Regions from separate parts of the Homo sapiens genome. Here region 2 is linked to region 1. The links are contacts of gene promoters, found by promoter capture Hi-C in blood cells and fetal thymus (Javierre and others, 2016). All regions are on one chromosome and are shown on one strand. Each heading gives the region's core, a stretch centred on a gene start or on the middle of the fragment in contact. The rest is flanking DNA. Distances are from core to core; before and after follow the strand shown.

Region 1 (6,920 bases), core at 25-2,524:
CTTTCAAACATTTGAAACATAAAGTACTTAGCTCTATATAGTTGCCTATTTTGTCCAACAATACCCTTTGCCCTCTCTTGATACCTAGGGTCCTGAATGCAGAAGGTAAGTGAAACTGTAAGACTAAGGGAGCCCTCCAAAATACATCTCTTAAGGCAACAATGTAAAATCTAGTATTCCAAACTGCAGCTACCATCCAAACTAACAAAAAAAATGGGTACTTCTCTATATACTCCCCAATTTTTTTATTTAACAGCATTAAATGTTCTCTTCTTTACTGGAGATGGAAGAAAAAGACTCAGATTTACTTTAGGATCTTGTAGCTGACAATGTATCAATGCCAAACAGGAGAGTTACTGTTAGTCAGAGAGACGGGGACCACAAACACCACCAGGTGCTCATTTCAGTATCAATTTAAACCCACTGTGTGACCTATATCCAAATTTTGCACTCCTCCATAAGTAGCAATACAGACACAGGTTTTAATCTTGAATCATTACAAAAACATTAAACAACTTTAGACAGAAGGAAAAATGCCAAAATGTTAAAAAATAAGTCTAGATACTGAGATTGCCAGTGGGTTTTTTTATTCTTCATAGGTCTGTGTATTTTACCAGCTTCTTAAAATTAACACATATTAGTTTCTAATAAAAGAACACATGTTATTTCTTTTCTTGAGATGGTATCTTGCTCTGTCACCCAGGCTGGAGTGTAGTGGCACGATTTTGGCTCACTGCAGCCTCTGCCTCCCAGGTTCAAACAATTCTCACGCCTCAGCCTCCTAAGTAGCTAGGACTACAGGCGTACACCACCACGCCTGGCTAATTTTTGTATTTTTAGTAGAGATGGGGTTTCACCATGTTGGCCAGGCTGGTCTTGAACTCCTGACCTCAAATGATCCACCCAACTCGGCCTCCCAAAATGCTAGGATTACAGGTGTGAGCCACCGACGCCTGGCCAACAAATGTTATTTCTAAAAGATGAAGAAGCAAGAGAAGAACATAGACACGAATCTGCAAATCTACTTAGACCGAACATATCAAACGAGGTTTGGCTAGAGCTTCTCAGTACACTAATTGCTCTGCTCAACCTACAAGAAGCCAGGTACACTGGATGTCAACATGCCTACCTCATGGTATCTTCTACCTATCCAGAGCCCTTAACAAAACAAGTCTCTATCTGAGACAGGAGGGAAAACTTTATCTCTGTTAGCCAGCTCTCATTCCAAAGGGGTCTGATATTTAAAACTGTCTTTCTCCCAAATATTTTAACAGCATGTGAGAACTTTTGGCTGATGAATACAAGATACGCTCATTCATTCTCTTCATTGCTATGAAATGAGTTTTTCCACAACCTCCTGCAGAACCTCAACACATCACTAGGTGGCAACATCCCTACACCATATCGGTTTAGAAACCACGGTTAGGAGGAGCAGCAAAACACGCGGCATCCCAGTATGATTCAGAAGTAAAGTAAGTAAATATTTTCAGGGCAAATAAAAAACAGTCAAGTCTGATGCAATTAAAAGAAGTCCTCTCTACAAGAATAAATGTTTGTCCCCACTCTCCTCCCTCATGGAAACAGTACAGGCAAGCTGCCGGAGTGAACGCTGAGTGAGGGAAAGGAACGCACCATCGTTATCAAACTCGATCCGCGTGCATGGCCCCCGGGCGGTGATGTCGCAGCTGTACAGCCCTCCCGTTCTGTTGGCTCTCTGCAGTGGAAGCGCTTCTGCCCGCGGGGCCCCCACGAGCAACCTGTTGATGAAACAGAGACAATTTGGAGATTTGAATTTAATATACGTTTAACAGTTAAATCAGTCAGAACTAGGAGATAGTGGGATTATTCTTTGTCTAGGAGTCCACTAATTCTTCAACAGCTTAGGCAGTGAGTGAGAACAAATGTAGAGTCCTATGGCTGGTTCATGCAAAACGCACAAACACAACTAAACAGGGGAAGCCAAAGAGGGGATACCAAAACGAGGAAAATAGGCCTGTCTCTCATAGTATCAGCATTTCTTGCTGGGTATGATCTGGTGTTTAAAAGACACCCTCTTCAAAGAATACAACCTCTAAGCCCCTATGATGCCAGGGATATCATATGAAACTCAAGAGAAGAAACCAAATACTTGTGACAATGGAAGGAAAAAATGGCCACACTAAATGTAATAAGCAATAATATGTCAGTTTCTAACACTGTGCCTTCCTGAGGTAGTTTTCAAGGGTAATTCTGACTATATCTTAGATTTTCAGTTTATATACTAATTGAGAGAACCTAATGGTAAGTAAGATACAACTCGACTGAATTATTCACTTGCAGCCTTGGCCTCTTTCCAATTCTTTTTTTTTTTTCCCTCCAGTTTTATTAGGGTAGAATGGACAAATAAAAAGCAGATATATTTGAGGTGTACAAGTTGATGTTTGTTCTTCCAAGTCAGTTCTTACTTCCTTGCACTTTTGTCACATTACAAGAGTTCGTCCTCTCTCATCCTATCAGTCTCCCACAAAGGATTCAGGGACAACTGGTGTAGCTCCACTTATGTACTAGGCACTGTAATATTCCTTCTTCTCCCCAGCCGAGTGTTTTTATCTCCTATAAGGAGGCCCCCAGTCCAAATCCACAGTCCTTAAAATTTCACCATCTCACAGCTTGACAGGCTCTTTAGAGATCCAATGACCTTGTTGCTAGGTCTCTTTTGCTAACACCTTTACTCACCATCAGGTTTACAATCTTTGAGGCCTGGCTGACTCATGGAACAACTAGGACAAGAAACAAAGACAAAGAACACACACCTGACTGGACAGAGATAAACCAAGAGCTGAGAGTTTTGGAAACAAGGCTGGAGCTGAGGAAAAGGACTGGGAACACGAACCTGTACAAACAACAAATTCTTACAACAGAAAACAAGCCACTCCTGGCCATCAAGAAACCCACAAATCTCAGAAGCAAAAGCAAAACAAATGAAAATACAAACCAAATAGTCTCTATTACCTTCATGCCTGTTGGGTCCCAATAAAGGAATCATTCCAATAAAGGATTCAACATATTTTTTTTAAACCAATATCATGCAGCAGGTGCCACCGGAGGCAAGTGTACCTGGAAAGCAGGGAGGGGGGCCAGATGATGCCCAGACAGAGAAGGAGGGGTGGCTCATGGATAACACATAGCCCCAGCACTGTCCTTCCTCCCAGATCCCTGGACAGTCACAGTCAGCCCCCACCTCCAAACCCACCCTACATTTGAAGGAACAAAACAGCACACACCAAGGTACAGAACTGACACACAGACTTTTAAATTAGGAACTGGAGCAGTGTCCTTGGTGCCTGAACCTTCTTGACAGAGGACAGAGGCAAGGCCGGGGCCACAAGGGTCCCCACAGGTCTGCTCCACTCCTATTCCAGTGATGTCCCCGATCCCAGGAATGCCAACAAACAAGTACCTGGGAGGTGAACTGCCTAGACTATAAGGTGAATGTGTTAAATTACTGTACTTGGCAGATGTCAGAGGTGGAGTCATGTGGAGGGTGCTGGAAGGGATAAGTGGGGTGCCAGGATCAGAGGCCCAGAACCCCAGGACTTTCACACTGGAAGCCCCTGAGAGAGACCAGTCCTCCAGTTTTACAGATAAAGAAACAGAGGCCTTGAGGAGCTTAATTACTCATCCCCCAAGATCTCACAGCTAGTGGGTGGCCATGACAAAAATTATCTTGGTGCAATGTTGTCTCCATTTCTTTACAAAGCTGCTTAGGAAGTAAAACCCAGGATTTCAAGTTTACAACCTAGTTGAAAGGGCAAAACTTACACAAATAAAACATCACAACCAAAACTGTTCTGTATGCTGATAAAAGTTAAGATAATAGAGCCAAGTAGAGGGGAAGGAAGAAAAGCATTATTGCAGTTGGGTGGAGTGAAGGCTGGGTAAGAGATTTCCTGTAAAGGTAACCACCAGCAAAGAGAAGCCTAGAAAAAGCAGCACAGGAGTCCCATTGTCTTAACTGTGTGTCTTCCTAACCACTTCCTCTTCTCACCCACACCCAAGGTGGCTACTAAGTTACCTAAGGCAGGCACAGGGCTTATTTCCTGTTTATCCCATTCCCACATTCGTTCACCTATTCACTCAACAAACGCTGATTAAGAGCCTCCTAGGATGAATAAGGAATTGCCCCCACTCCTCAATCTCTGGCCTGGGGAAGCCTGATCCGTGAACAGGTCATGAGGTCATGAAACCACAGGGAGCTAGAGGCAATGAGAGGATGGTACAGAGTGCTGTGGGCACCAGCACCTGCTGGAGAGGAAGGGAGGATGTCACTAAGAGATGACAGCGGGACTGGAGGTGGCCAGGTAAGGAACACAGCATATGCAAAGGCTGCAAGGGAAGGAGCCAGAGAAAAGGGAGAAGAGGGACACAATGGGTGACAAGAAGGGGTCGAGGATCAGCAGCCTGGTCAGCAGCGCTAAAGGACGAAGGGTCAGAGACCCTCTGAACCCCAGGCTTCTGTAGCCTGCTGTGTCCTGCAGGGTACAGCTGCTTTTGGGTGTCCTGTGGTTTAAAAAGCTGTGGAGGTTGTCCCATTTACATGCCCAGTCCCTCAGAGTGGGTTGGCTTCCCTCAGCCTCTATCTGCCACTTGTTCTCCACTCTCTGTAACTAATACGTGTGGGACAAAGAATAGGCATTTAACTCGAATTTGTTGGCTGGTTACAGGGGCTGTGGTGACAAAATTTCACAAATGCCCACACCAAGCTCTTGCAGAAGAGGTCCTCGTGTCTTACATGCGGCGGCTACTGCAGATGACAGCAGACCACATGGCAGGATGGGGGCAGCAGGCTGGTTTGGGGAAAAAGGACAACAGATTCGAAAAGAGACCTGCAAACGACAAGAGAAATGTACCCACAGAGAATAACGTTAGCTGTTGCACCGCCTCTGGGCGAGCTCAGCCTGCACATGGTCCTGGCACTGTCCTTCCTCCACCTCAGGTGGTCCCACAGGGGATGGAGGAAGCAGGAGTGTTCCACCGCCCCTTGCAAATCCCCTGGGCAGCCGTGGGAGGAAGAGCTGACACCCAGCAGCAGAGGGCGCCCCTGCTCCAGTTGCGCCCGGTCTCCTGGGACCCACCGCGATAAGGTGGCAGAACCCATCACCGAAAGGTAAGGTAAAGCTACACCTTGATGAGAGAACACAGTAACCCCAACCACATTCAGCAACTGGAGGCGCCTTCATCCTCAAGGTAAAGCTGCCCTCCCTGGTTTGGGAAACAAGCAAAGGCTCTTAATTCGCCTGGAACCAGCCTTAAAGGCAGGAGATCACAGCCCATTAGCTGAGGCTGTGCCTAGCAGGAACAATAAATAAGGTAAATAGAGCTGTGTCCAAACAATGACAGCAGAGAACAACCTATCTACTTCCTAATCTAGGTCATTTAGGGTCTGGGTGCTGGTCTAAGCTGTTCAGGACATGGTTGGCTCCTGAGCTAGCAGAGTGGGTACAGGTCCAGGAGGGACAGTCTACACCTAGGAGGACCCTCAGCCCACACAAAATCCAATTTATGCTCAAATTCCAGCTTTCTTCCCTTTCCCTCCAAGGCCCTTAAATGCCAAAAACTGGGCCCAGGCCACCCAGATGGTTCAGTGTGAAAAGCAGGTACTCTCTGGGCACTACCAGGATGCTCACAGCAACTCCTAGGACCAGGGCAGCTGCAGCACTCATTACTGACCATCCCAGTACGTTTGAAGGAGGAAAGAGCTATGTGACAACTCGACCTTCAGAGCCACAGGGACCAAGGGATATGAGTTAGGGCCTTTGTAGGGAGGTGATAGAAATTAACAGAGCAGAGCCTGAGAGGTCTATTCCCATATGCGGTCAAGGCAAGAAAAACTAAACAAAGGGCAAGAATCTGGGTGTGAACTAAGATCATTTCAAAACCGGCCAGTGGACAATGACCTCCACTGAATTTTAAAGCTGCACCGAAATAAAAACTGCCTTGGGATTTCAGCATATCAGAAACCCACACTTAAAAGGCAAAACTCAAAACCACAAAATCATCTTTAACGATAAGAAATAAACACTGAGATACTAAAATGGAATGTAAAAATCTAACGATATAAGTATAACAGTAACTGGGAATATGATATAAATTCAGGTCTTTGGAGTCTAATCAGAGCTCTGGGCACAGAGACTCAGGACTCACTATCATGCTATGAACACAAGGTTATTTCAAAATTCTTCAAGTAAGCCACATCCGTTTCATATATTCAAGTTCTCCCCCAAAGAGAGCTGGTATACTTTTGCATAAATACTTCAAATCAAAAGTTCTAAACACTGGGACACTTTTAAAACTCCAAGAACAATGGCAGCTTTGCTTCACTGTCTTTGGCAATAATTCATTTCCTCAAGGATTAAAGATTCTGCCCCTAGCTATGCAAGCTGGTCAGAGGAAACATGAAATATTGCACCATTAGAACAAGAACACTATTATTGCTTAATTTAAAACACAGCCTGCTTAGTTTGTCCAAATTAAGACCTAAAAAGTTAGAAAGTAGCATTATGTGGCAATTGTGTCACCTTTACATTTAACCCATTTTCAAACTCAGAATTTAATTTTTGCTAAAGTAATAAGTACAAATGATAGGAAATCAAAAAATAAAAGACTTAACGGTAGAAAGCAACAGATTCCAAACTCATCCCAAGCCCCACACTCCGGACAAACCTCTTACTTTTCATTCTGGATTTACTTCTCCATAATTCTGGATTATTATATATGTATTGATTTATCAGCTTTAGGCAATAACTGTTGGCCCCATAATATGAAAAGGAAAGAACAAACTGCCACCTCCCATCCTATGTTTAATAACTAGATTTAGTTCCTCTATTTGCTACTCTGAGTTTTAAAGATTTAAACCTCTATTTTCCCTTCAACTTTTGACA
Region 2 (7,066 bases), core at 2,981-5,480, 130 kb after region 1:
GAGCTCATGCTCTAGTGGAGAAGCCACTAGAAGCCAAACAAAAATTAATTAAATACAGTGCTGTCTAGATAAATACCATTTTCATATAAAATTTTAGGAGAGGGGACAAATTAACTGAGTTTGACAGTGTCTCAAAAAAATGTAAAGAAAATAAAAGTTGAGTTCGGTTTTGAGAATGAGTAGGAGTTCACCAGGTAGAAGAAAGAGGGCTCTCATCACTTCAATGCCATGCAAATTTGTAGAACATAAGAAAGGATGGTAAGATGGGCAGGGCCAGGAGATCAGAGAAAAGGAAAGACCCAAGTTAAGGGTTCTGGTTAGACTAAGAACAGGGACCAGGGAGGAGGAAGCAACTGTGGGGCAGGGGCGAGAGGAAGAGAGCAGGAAATAAATGAGGTTGCAGAACAGCCAGGGCTGCTGGGCAGGGCAGGACACCTAGAGGGCCCAGGACCAAAATCTGGGCCTGATTCTGCTTCTGGTGAGCAGCAGGAGTTGTGTGGGATATAGGAGCCTGGGAGAACCTCTTCAGGTTTCTGGACTAGTCTTCCCTCTGTAGAATGAAGGGTGGGACCCAGGAGCTTCAAGGCCGTTTCCAATTTTGTGACACTTACAAGGGTCAGTGTTTCTCTAAATGGGGTCCTATGGAATCAGGATGCCTGGGCATCCCAGGTAATCCTGATGCCAGTTATGTTTAAGAAATACTATTGTATGAACTGAATGGGACGGAACTTCTCTTGTCCTTGGTTTCTTTGCATTAAGTAAGAAACAAGAAAATTTTTGCATTCTGTAAGCAATACTGTAAATGCAACATAAAACTCTGTAAGATGTAAATACCATACCATTTTCCCCAAACTGCAAACTGAAGATTTATTTTCCCATCAGGTAAGAAAGTGGTGCGTTGTTTCTCCTTTTTTCTTAAGGAAGCAAACTTACTTTGACAAGTAAAATACCCTACTTGGCCTCAGAAGCTGAGGTTACTGATAAGAAGACTGGGCAGCCCCAGAGAGAGAAGGTGGCCTGTAATTCAACTTGGATTTGTTGAAACTTACTCCGAAACCCCTCTGGCTGGGCAGCTGCTGAAAGCATTGGCCTTTTGTTTGTGGTAAACACCAAAAAAAACCCAGCATCTTCTAGAATCTTCTAGACTGTCAGTGTGCAAGAGATGAGGGCGATTAATTTTGTTGGCAGATGCAGAAACAGTCATGAGAGGGGTCTTCTGGAAGAGAAAGTCAGGGCCTGGATAAGCTTCTTGAAATCAGACATGTAGAAGCCCAGTGGAGACACGGATTTGCTTTTCAAATGTTAATGAGTGTTCTTAATCAAATGTGGCTTTCACCGCAAGTTCTGCTCCCACACACTCTGGTTTAAGGCTGAGCTAGACTGGAGTGCACTTGATTAAACTCAGCACAGATCTTATCCAAGGGCAGTCTTCATGTGTTTTTCTTCTCAAGCACCAGGAGGATTGTAAATAAAACATGTTGAGGAAATATAAATTCCCCATCTCCCCTAGTCTCAACAAAACTATAGAGGTACACATCTATTTTCCTTAAAGGATTCAGCAGTTAACTGAAAAATGTATTTATTAGATCTTATAAAAAGGAGGGGGAGGGAGGGGGAGAGAGAGAGAGAGAAAAGGAGGAGGAAAAAGAGGAGAAGGAGCAGGAGGAAGAGCAGGAGGAGGAGGAGGAGGAGGAGGAGGAGGAGGTGGTGGCAGAGGAGGGAGAGGGAGGGAGCTCATGGAGTGGAGCCTAGGCCATTCCTGGGAGGTGCAGTCTGTGAGGGCTCCTTCCCTTAATCAGGTGAAAATGGACTTCAAGCCCTAATGGGAAAAGAAAGGAAGCACCAAGGGGAGGAGAAGGAAGCCGAGGCAGAAGGCAGGGAGCCCTGTGTCCTGGCAGAGGGCCACTCCTTTGCTGGGAGGTCCGTGGCCTCTGCTTCTCCCGAAGGTCACTGATCACTGTTGGCAGCATCCTCCTTTCCTCCCCTTCAGTGGTGCACACAGCTCCCACCAGATAAAAGGTCCAAGGAAGATGACCCTTTTATGAGGCATTGCAGGAATTTGTGATTTACAGGAAGGAGACACTGCTTGTAGGTTTGAGAACACAAACTCCAAAGAGATAGAATCGGCAGAATATATCCTTCTTTTCCTTGAGCTATAGCACTTCTAAGAGGTCTATTAAAATCTAAATTGGAAGATTCTCATAGCTTAGAATCCAAAACACAAACCAAAACAAAACAGCAGTAGAGAACCACAGTAGTTCATTGCCTAACCTAGCTTCCCCCACTCATTCACTCCAACTTTTCCAAGGATTTATTTCCATTACATTTAACTCCTAAGCTCTCATTCTTCATAATATATTTGTCCCGCATTGATTTTTACAAACCCACGTTCATGTTAATGTCAAGAAAAAAAAAATCAGCCAGGCGCACTAGCTCACGCCTGTAATCTCAGCACTCTGGGAGGCAGAGGTGGGTGGATCACGAGGTCAGGAGTTCGAGATCAGCCCGACCAACATGGTAAAACCCCATCTCTACTAAAAATACAAAAATTAGCTGGGCTTGGTGGCGTGTACCTGTAATCCCAGCTACTCAGGAGGCTGAGGCAGGAGAATCGCTTGAACCCAGGAAGCAGAGGTTGCAGTGAGTCGAGATTGCACCACTGCACTCCAGCCTGGGCAACAGAGCGAGACTCTGTCTCAAAAAAAAAAAAAAAAAAAAAGAAAGAAAGAAAGAAAAAAAGAAAAAAAATCCTTACAACCAGTAGGACATCAAAGGCAAGACTAGCTTTACTCCACGGGACAGTAGACATGGCACGAAAGCTGCTGCTGGGTTACAGGCTCAGGGTGTGTCACCAAGGGAGGGGAACAATGAGATTCAGCCGTTACTCACCACCTGAGTCCATTCCGCTTAGAACCCCAGCCAAAAGATAAACAGCAAGAGGGAAAAGAACTCTGTAAATATCCCCATGAGAACAATGAACAAAGTTCATGTATTTTATCTGCCTGTGTAAGCGTAGGCATAAAGCCCCAGCGGAGTCTTATTTTTCTCATTGTTCCAAGAGACAAGTCCTATACCCCCAAGAGAGGGGAACCCAGATCCCCTATTAATGAAGAGGTTGTAAGACAGCGAGGGTCAGTCTGCGTCCTCCAAGAAGTCGAAGCAATCAGATCAGGGAATTTAAAAAAGGAATCTTTTCTTCAAAGTCCTTACAGGGATCTTATCATGTAGTCCATGCAAGTGATTTAGAAAGTCCAAGTCTTATCATGGAACAGACAAAGCCAGTCTCCTGCTTTCCTCCCCTGACCTGTCCCCTTTCAGCTGTTTCTTATATTCTCCTTCAAATTTCTAAATAAAATGCTTGTGCTGCTATTGAGTTATCCAGTAGGGACATCAATAAGCTTCCCATTAGGCTAGGAGACTCTTTCTTACACTTTCCTCCATATTTTGCCTCCCTCTATTCTCTCGATATAGATAAATTATAATTTTTGGTTAAATCTATCCTCTGTGTTTCCATTATTAGATAATTGCTCAATGCTGAGGACAGGAGTGCACTATCATTTTACTTCCTTTGCCTTCTGGTGTGCAGGGTTGCTACTGAGAAATCCTGTGCCCTTCTACTTTCTGTTCCTCTGAACAGAACCTGTTTTATCCGTCTAGGGAAATGTTTACGGTCTTCTCTTCATTCACGGTTTCTGAAATTCCAAAGTGGTATAAGCTGGCATGGATCTTTTCAAATCCACAGGAAATATTCTGGTAATATTTCTTTGCCCATTCTTTCACTTTCATTTTCTTTATTTTGTCTTTCTGGAATTCCTCTTAGGTGAATGTTAGCCCTCCAGGACCAATCCTTTCATTTTCTTATCATGTCTTCCCTGTTGTCCATGTTTTTTTGTTCATTTGTTCATTTTTCTGGGAGTTTGTTGTTGTTGTTGTTGTGTGTGTGTGTGTGTGTGTTTTTTTTTTTAGGGCTTTTAAGACCTTTCTTTCTTGTCCTTTGATGATTTCTGAATTAAAGCATCCTGTTCTGGATTCACGGGTACAGCACCCTCTCTTATCTCCCTACCAATATCAAATAAGTTTTTGTATGTTTATAAAGGTTACTTCTGTTCCCTTTCATTGTTTGTTTCTCCTAAGTATTTTTTCCCATTTGAATGATTTTGATCTCTTTTATGTTGAAGTCTTTCCTCCAGAATCAGGTGGCCCTCGCATGCCCATTCTTATTGAAGACGAAGATCCAAAACTCTGATTCATGGGTTTGCTTTGAGACACGTGGGCAGGCTTGTGAGCTGGTGAATTTCACTGACAGAAACCTAATACTGAGGCAGCCTTTTCAGAGTAGGGCCCCAAATGGACTTTAGTCGGTCTTCTGTCTGCAGCTCAGTTCCCCCATGGCAGACAGAATCCCTGCTCTCTGGCTGGAGAGGATGCCTGCCTGGCTGCGAAAGAGGCAGGGGCTAGCTGGGGTCATCATCTCCATTCAATCATTGTCAGTGCTGACTTTCACTTTCCCCCAGTACCAGCTCCAAACCTCACTCCTGCCCTCCTCTGTGCTAATGTGGCTATGTTCATAGCCTTTTTGGTTCCACATCTCTAGAGAAAAACTTCCAGCCTTATGCAAGCAGGTGGCAGAGGAAGGGGAGGGAGAGGAATTGTGTGGTTGCCCAGTCGGGGAGAACACTTAGGGATCTAATTCCAGACTTCTAAGCAGCCCCCTGCATTCAGTTGCCAAACTCCTTCCTGCCTCCTGCAGCACTTGGTGCCCCAGAACCTCAACCTTTCTGAGGTTCTGCTGGGAGGAAAAGGGGTGGGTATGGCACACTCCTCCTTGGAATGCCCTCTGAAGACTAAACCAATCACCACCCCTCCACCTGCTTTCCATCTGTCTACACCATGGAGCCAATTCAAAATCTGTGTAGCTCCTCTTCCAGGGTATCTGGTTTTGTGCACTGGTACCCTTTTATTCCTCTACTAGAATTTTTAGTTGGTATCTGGTTTTGTGCACTAGTACCTTTTTATTCCTCTACTAGAATTTTTAGTTGGGGTTTTGGAAGGCAGAAGCTTAGGTCTGCCATGTTTAATCATAAGCTTTGTCCCACTATGTAGATTTCACACGTGCTCTCCAGAAATCTGCTTGCCTGTAGTCCATGGAGTCCACTGGATTTTCTGGGCTTATATAGGCGGATGGTTCTAACCTTGGATCTGCCAGGCACCAAATGTGTGGCCTTACGTTAACTGATTCACCTCCCTGGGCCTCATTTCTTCATGTAAAAATTGGGGATAAAGGAGGGCTCCTGTGCATTAAATTTTTTTTTGTAAATTATTAAATTATCATTAACAGAATTAAATTGCCTATTGTGTTAAAGATAATGTTCATGATAATAAGCAAGTGGGGTAGGCACACATTACCCCATTTTTCAAATGAATTCTACAAAAAAGGGGCCTAGTCTCTGTAAGGGGGCAGAAGATACTTGTTCGGTGCCTTGTGATTTAATTCTCCCTTTATTATGTTTCATCCTCCATGCGAAATTCAGATTTTCCATTAAATGGCTGATTCTCCCATTTGAAAAGTTAAATGTGGTGATTTGGGGTGGGGGGAAGTAAAAGAGTTCTATCTGGTTATTTATTTTTAGGAATACAGAAAGAAGGAAAACTAAGGTCCCTAACTGTGAAGAGGAGGTATTCTTGGGCCCTTGCCTTACCTTTATTTTAGATGATCTTTCTTTACTTAGATGATCAACCTCTCAGCATCCAATTTCAAAGGTATTTAAGTTTGTATTTTAAGTCAACAATTATTGGAGGAAGTTAAATGTTTTCCTGTAGTGTTTTGCCTCTTTGTAAACTAAATAAGGTTGTATGCATATTTTACCTGCTGAACATTGACCTCCATGAGGGCCTGGGATTGTCCCCATTTTTCTGTTGGCCACTGAATATAGCATAATGCCCAGCACATCCTACATCATAGCCCTTAGGAGCTACAGGAGATCTTAAAGTATATCTACTCCAGCCCCTTTGTTTTACAGACAATCTAGAAAAGCCCAAACAAGATGAAATTATTTGCCTGAGAACTCTGAGGAAGAGACTAAACCAAAACTTGACGTGGGCCTCTCAGCTCAGAATTAGTGCTTTCCACTATACCAGGCTGCCCAGAGTAGGTGTTTAGTAAGAATCTGGTGTTCTCAACACAGCCTAATCTTTCGTGTTCTCTCCATTATAGCCCAGCTTTTTCTTTTCTTTAAATGCTGATGGATTTAAAAAGCAAAACAAAACAGCAATAAGGCTTAACATAAACCTAATAGCTAATTACATCAAGAGAAAAGAAAGCTGGGACCTTACATAGTAGATGACTTAACTATGTACTCTAATATAATACATAATCAAAACTACTCTCTTTAGTAAACATATTTCCACTAATTTATTCTCCCATGAAGCAAGCCATAGGTGTGCATGTTTTCTACCTTGGATGCTGACTATGTTGTGTACCTTCAGAGTCTTTACTTCTTTAAACCTGACAAAACTGGCCCCAAGTGACCTCTGCTCTCTGATCTTAGTGCTGCCTTCATTAGGGTCACCTGAATGAGTTCAGATGGGCACAACTGACTTAATCAATAACAGGGAGTCATTTATTGTAGGATAGAGGAGTGTATCCTGGAACCTCAGGGCAGGAAGACCAGTCAGATGATCCCAAGGAGCTGAAAACCTAGAACCAGAAAGCCAGCAGGAGCCACGGGAGCTCCCTGCAGCCTCACTCCCGCCCCTCACACCCTCCCTCTTGGTGGGGCCCCGTGGTCTCTATCCCTGCCTGCATGTGCACTCCCTCTTTTTCTCTCGGCAGACCATCTTTCTTCCCTGGCCACCCACATGTCCTCCTCATCACTCGTGGGCTTACATTCCCTCCACTTCAGCAGTAAGTAGTGCCTGAGACTCCTATTTCTCAGCCTGAATTCCAAACTGGCAGGAGAAGGAACCCATTGCCACTGCTTAGACCAATATCCCCTTCTGCTCTAAGTAATCACAACTGTGGGACAGTTGCCCATCCAAACATGGTGGCCAGGCTGCTGACAACTGA

The links. The method cuts DNA at HindIII sites, captures the fragments that hold promoters and counts their contacts. A CHiCAGO score of 5 or more calls a contact.
Region 2: a contact is called between a fragment that was not itself captured here and the fragment with the promoter of ITGA6-AS1 in region 1, in 5 of 17 cell types (megakaryocytes, endothelial precursors, naive CD4 T cells and 2 more). The highest score is 9.5, in megakaryocytes.

What each region holds. Positions count from the first base shown.
Region 1 is chr2:172,460,376-172,467,295 of GRCh38, reverse strand. ITGA6-AS1 (ITGA6 and PDK1 antisense RNA 1) reads left to right here and starts at 1,274. Exons shown (of 2, transcript NR_157573.1): 1 at 1,274-1,472; 2 at 2,722-3,034. It overlaps ITGA6 (integrin subunit alpha 6), which reads right to left. Exons shown (of 26, transcript NM_000210.4): 2 at 1,633-1,757. PDK1-AS1 (PDK1 and ITGA6 antisense RNA 1) reads left to right here. Exons shown (of 4, transcript NR_199657.1): 4 at 2,722-3,030. RefSeq lists an enhancer at 864-1,033. The HindIII fragment of the contact is 13,641 bases long and covers 1-6,920 here.
Region 2 is chr2:172,337,107-172,344,172 of GRCh38, reverse strand. All of the region lies in intron 4 of LOC107985960 (a long non-coding RNA gene), which reads right to left. Among named protein-coding and RNA genes, the nearest start is that of ITGA6, 87 kb to the left of the region's middle. The HindIII fragment of the contact is 1,660 bases long and covers 3,401-5,060 here.